Regions from separate parts of the Homo sapiens genome. Here region 1 is linked to region 2. Evidence: promoter capture Hi-C in human tissues and cell types (Jung and others, 2019). All regions are on one chromosome and are shown on one strand. Each heading gives the region's core, a stretch centred on a gene start or on the middle of the fragment in contact. The rest is flanking DNA. Distances are from core to core; before and after follow the strand shown. Region 1 overlaps GLRA3 (glycine receptor alpha 3). Region 2 holds the start of SPATA4 (spermatogenesis associated 4).

What was found. The method cuts DNA at HindIII sites, captures the fragments that hold promoters and counts their contacts. A contact is called where the count stands out against the background at its distance.
Region 1: a fragment that was not itself captured here is called in contact with the fragment with the promoter of SPATA4 in region 2 in 1 of the 25 tissues and cell types used here (dorsolateral prefrontal cortex).

The regions. Positions count from the first base shown.
Region 1 is chr4:174,715,520-174,718,527 of GRCh38, forward strand. GLRA3 (glycine receptor alpha 3) reads right to left here. Exons shown (of 10, transcript NM_006529.4): 5 at 1-51. Among named protein-coding and RNA genes, the nearest start is that of GLRA3, 110 kb to the right of the region's middle. The HindIII fragment of the contact is 5,278 bases long and covers 1-3,008 here.
Region 2 is chr4:176,193,985-176,196,839 of GRCh38, forward strand. It overlaps SPATA4 (spermatogenesis associated 4), which reads right to left and starts at 1,601. Exons shown (of 6, transcript NM_144644.4): 1 at 1,361-1,601. The coding sequence starts at 1,578. The HindIII fragment of the contact is 4,035 bases long and covers 1-2,781 here.

The DNA of each region.
Region 1 (3,008 bases), core at 1-2,500, 1.5 Mb before region 2:
TCCATGGGAAAATTCTTGAGATCCATTGGACAGGAAAGTGTTAATGTTAATCTGAAAGTCAAAGTAATTATTTTTAAAGGAAATTTATGACATTATATTAATATTCTATTGTACAGGAGAAACAATGTTGCTTTGCTGGTGACTAACTCAGATTTAAGTAAAAATTTCTCCAGCTTATGTATCCTACTTACTATAAAATAGCTATGCCCTTATATACAAATCTGGCTTTGGTGGGCTGGGGGTTGGATAATTGCATATCTTAGGCTGGTGCTAAAGTAATCGTGGGTTTTGCCATTAAAAGTGCTGGCAAAACAGCAATTACTTTTGCACTAACCTAAATATAAGCATCCCGTCATATTTATATATCTATATGTTTATTTATTCAATTAGAAAGGGCTGTGGATGTCTAGAAAATGTCTGTATTCCAAGACGACATCCTCAAAAGAGAAATTCAAGAGTGGATCCTATAAAATTAATGCCAAACGTCAAAAGGTATCTTTCCTTGCAAATCACATGCTATATTCCAGAGGCATTAGAGTTCTAAACGTGGAAAAGCAGGGTGGAGAGGAGCAATCATATGTAACGTTCAGTCATCATTCTAACGACCCTGATGTTGTCAGTGAACATTCAGCAGTGTATTTAGTAAAGTGAATCTGGAGGACTTGAAAAGTTCGGCCTCATGTTCCCCGGTGTGGGATAAGGGAATCATCAGGGTCAGGAAATAGCCCTCTAGAATATTCATGATCTGATTCTATGCTCATCAAACAAACTTCTGATTTGGCTTCACACAAAGGATAACCTAGATGCTGTATACCAGTATTCCGCTCATTGGAAAGGCTCTCCTCCAACTTCCAGAGAGAATTAGTATGTTGACATTCCAGAAAATTCATCACCTTTGAATACTTTTTGCTGGAAAAGCATTCTACCCAGATCTCTTCAGGGTAGTTTTTCTGGTTCCTACACCTGAGGAAGAGATGGTGAGATCCACTCAAGTTTATTCAAATGAAGTTCTTTTCTGAGAACTCTTTAGCAAGCCTCTTGCACTGAGAATATTCCCATTGAAATTCAGTGTCTTCATGAGCACCCTAGGTGGATTAGTTTACTTAAACTTCGTGACCCTAGGCAGATTACTTCAAATCCCCTATATTGCAGTTTTCTCATCTTTAAAATGAAGATAACAATAGTACCTACTCCAGAGAGTTGCTATGAGCAGTACATGCGTTAACACACATAAGTGCTTAGACAAGTGCTTAAGCCATAGCAAACACTCAACAAACAGTGGTTGTTAGTGATTATTAGTATATTCAGCCACTCCTAGACTCCTTCATTTACTCATCTGCCAAATTCTATAGTGTGGGCACAAAGATGACTAAATTAAATTACATATTAAGAACTATTTAGCCAGGCGTGGTGTCTTACGCCTGTAATTCCAGCGCTTTGGGAGGCTAAGAAGAGAGGATCGCTTGAGCCCAGTAGTTTGTGATCATCCTGGGCAACATAAAAATACTCTATCTCTACAAATATATATATATATATATTTTAAATTAGCCAGGTATGGCTTGTGCACCTGTAATCCTGGCTACTCAGGAAGCTGAGGTGAGAGTATGGCTTGAGCCCAGGAGGTCGAGACTGCAGTGAGCTAGGCTCACACTGCTGAACTATAGCCTGGGTGACAGAGCAAGATCTTGTCTCTTAAAAAAAAAAAAAAGAAAGGAAGGCATGCAGGAAGGAAGGGAGGGAGGGAGGGAGAGAGAGAGAGAGAAAGAGAGAGAAAGAAAGAAAAAGAAAGAAGGAAAGAAAGAAGAAACAAAGAAACAAAGAAAGGAGGGAGGAAAGAAAGAAGGAAAGGAAGGAAGGAAAAAGAAAGAAGAAAGGAATAAAAAAGAACTATTTAAGCTTTAACAAAAAATAGTCTGCAGCTCTACTAAATATAACCACATTCGTCAAGCTGACATTTTTATGTAGACCATAGACATAAAGTTAGAATGATGTATAGTCTACAGAGAGTATGCTTGGTGAGTTAGGTCCAATTAACATAATTTGGGACACATAAATGGAGAGACAGTGAAGCTGCTGAATTTTAAGAGTCTTAGGAGGATAATCTGGTAATTCATTCGAGTCAGAGTCCATAACACACTAGAATAATTCATGGAGTTCAACATTCAAAAGGAATTTTTCTCCTGGCTCAGCTAGGTTAAGTATGATTGTGTAATTTTACAAAGTTCTCTCTTAAAAAGGCAATTTTAAAATTAGGTAGACACAATGTTTTTTGCCTTGTGAAAGGGCTTATTAGAAGTGTATGCACACATATATTTTGAATGTACACACATTAATTTTCCAAATATCCAAGGCTCTCAGACAGCCAGTTTCAAATGTTGACTTGCAGAATTAATTCTGTGACCTTTTGTTTGGAAGTAAATAGCATTCTCAGAATCTTTTCCATGCTCTCACCATGCATGTGATGTCAAATTCATATCCTGGCTATTTTTCTGGCATAAAAAAAGAGACATTACATAATTCTAAAAAAATAGCACTTGAAAGGAATTATTTGGCAAAGAAAAACACAGTTTGTAGGACTTCGGTCATAAATCATATCCTGAAAAAATCTATTCATCGACTTTTCTTTCTTTTTGTTTAAGGTACAATACAATTGCTCCTTTCACAGCATACTGAAAAATACGTGTCAACTTGGTGGGTTTGATACTGAATTTCTTTGTCAAAACACTACATATAAATTAAAGACATGTCTTGACCACATCAAAAGAAAATTAAATCAAGAGGCAATTAATCACATTCTACTGTTTTGGAAATAAATGTTTACTTGTGTAAGAGAGACACTAAGTTCTCTTTCTGAGACAAGATACATAAACAGGATATGGCGTTTCTTCTTTTCCTTTAAGAAGTCTTGGGAAAGACTTTTAACATTAGTACTTAGTGAAACAGTAATGTTTAAAAAGCTGATAATAATTTGTGACAAACAATTGACCTCATTAAAATTCAATTATTGA
Region 2 (2,855 bases), core at 351-2,850:
ATTCAAGAAATAATTTGTAACTTTTAAATTGTACTCTGTTCTGGGCAGTCTGATGAAACCTCCCTGCCTGCTCTGTGTTGCCTAGGATGTGAGTCCTCCCTTTGTCCAGAGTCTCCACGTTGTAGACATCAGTCACCTTTTAGTCATCAGATCAACTGTACAGTGTGGTGCGCTTGTGTGCAAAGTGCAAGAGCAGTGATGCTGGTGATTCAGATATGCCAGAGAGAAACCATAAAATTATTCCTTTAGGTGAAAAGATGAAAGTTCTTGACTTAATAGAAAGTTGTAAGAATGGTTACAATGGTAGGAATGAATCATATTCCTGAAATATGAAGAAAAAGAAATTCTTGATAGTTTCGGCATCACACCTCAAACTGAAAAACTTTCAGCCACAGTGTGTGATAAGTGCTTAGTTAAGATTTTTAAAAAGGCATTAAATTTGTGGATGGAAGACATAAACAGAAATGTGTTCTGACAGAGGGTTCTGTAGTATCCACAGTTGCCATCCACTGGGGATCTTGGAACCTATGCCTCTCTGATAAGGAGAGACTACTTTAAACCAGAGTTCTGCAAAAGATTCATTGCCTTTTTATAGAATTTAGTTTGCATTCCCAGAGCAAATATTAGCTGCCAGTTACATACAAAGTGCCTACAATTAAGCAGCAACTTTAAAAACTTGTTGGTAACTCTCAAACTAGATGCCATCTCCGACAAAGGGTAAACTGATCCTTACCAGTATTTTTTTTTTTTTTTTTTTTTTTTTTTTTTGAGACAGAGTCTTACCCTGCCACCTAGGCTGGAGTGCAGCGGCATAATCTCGACTCACAGCAACCTCCGCCTCCCGGGTTCAAGCATTCTCCTGCCTGCAGCCTCCCCAGTAGCTGGGATTACAGGCACCCGCCACCACACTGGGCTAATTTTTTGTATTTTTTAGTAGAGACGGGGTTTCACCGTGTTGGTCAGGCTGTTACTCAACTCCTGACCTCAGGTGATCCGCCTGCCTCGGCTCCCAAAATGCTGGGATTACAGGCATGAGCAACTGTGCCCGGCCGTCCTTACCAGTATTAATGCCCAATATCACTAAAGAAAAAGCTTTGACTATTTTAATATTTTTGTAGTCACCAAAGCATTCTATATTGTCCACAATTTAATGATTGGTTGATTAATTGAATAAACAAGATGTATCGTGGTATTTTGTTAAAGCCTTGTTCCCTAATAGTGTTTTCGTGTGTGTACGTGGGTGGGGGGGTCTTGATTTGAAACATAAGCCAGGCCAGGGTAGGCAATCTGAGGCCTGGCAGGCGGCGGAAAGCAGGCGGGGCGCCCACCGGGGGGGCCTAGGACTGGCTTACTCAAGCACCTGTTGATGTTCCTGGGGAAGAAGCTGAGATCCAGACCCTGAAGCCAACGCAGAACGGAACGAGACAAGCGGGAGCTCTTCGGCGCATGCGGATAGACCAGACACTTCTTAGGCCTCCCTCGGATGGGAGCTGCTAGCTGTGGCGAAAGTGACGGTGACTTGTCTAGGGCTGCCGCAGTCTGTGTCAAATACCCTTTTTCCTGGCCGGCGGCAGCCATGACGCTTTCTGGGTTGCTGCGGCAACAGCAGAAGGCGGGGCTGGGCCTTATTGCTGGCGGCGCGGTCTCGTGGGGCGGGGCGGAGTCTTATGGGGCGAGACCTCAGCGCCTGCGCAAGCGCCGCAGCAGCCGCCCGTACTTCCGCTTTACTCAGATTTTGGACCGCGGGGCCGGGTATCGAGGGAGGCAAAGCTGGGGTCCCAGTGGTGTGGCTGCGGTCTGGGGAGCGCTTTCAGTCTCAGATTTAGTTGGCCTCACTGTTAACCTATTTAGAGCTTTTTTTTTCTTATGTCATCGTTCATAAGTTTTGTATTTTAAATATTGTTGGTTTCTGCCCAGCCAAAGGCCTATTTTCAGTCGTCTAGTTTGAGGAGTGGTGTGAGAAGACTCCAGAGGCCAAGGACAGTTTTTGTTTGGGAATTGGAAGAGATGGGGGAAAAAAATCTTTGAAATGGAAATGAATGTCCACAAAATTTAACATAACTATTTCCTTAATTATTGCATTAAGTATTTGTAAACATTAATATTTGAAAACGATGTGTAGGTTAGATTTTCACACTTAATTAAAATCTCCTAGTAGGCATAATTCCTTCATTAATTCAACAAATATGTATTGAGTCCATATTATGTGCCACGCATTCATCTAGTCACTTGGGATCTATCTGAACACAATGAAAACAACTGCAAAGTTGGCATAGGCAATTATAAATATGTAAGCTTAATTATTAAAATCCATTAAAAATTTTTACAGCCACAGTTTTTTGTTTTTTGTTTTTTGTTTTTTGTTTTTTTTTGCTTGGCAGGGCACAGTGGGTCATGCCTGTAATCCCAGCACTTTGGGTGGTGGAGGCGGGAGGATCGTTTGAGCTCAGGAGTTCAAGACCAGCCTGGGCAACACAAGGTGGAGAGACTTTCGCTACAAAACAAACAAACAAACAAAATAGCTGGGTGTGGTGGTGCACACCTGTACTCTCAAGTACTCCAGATGCTGAGGTGGGAGGATTGCTTGAGCTCAGGAACTTGAGGCTGCAGAGAGCCAGGTGACAGGCCCTGTGGATACATACACATGGTAAAATATGGGATAGATCTTGATAATGATACTATGTAATATTTTTAATGTTTATTCATATACATGCTTATTAATAAAGTAAACCAGTGTATTCTGTATGTGGTTAAAAAAGAAAACCAAAACTGAAGCTATGTAAGTGTTTTCTGTTAGGCTAAAAAAGTTTTAATGAATGATTCATTCATTCTGTAAACCTTTTCTGAGGAACTAT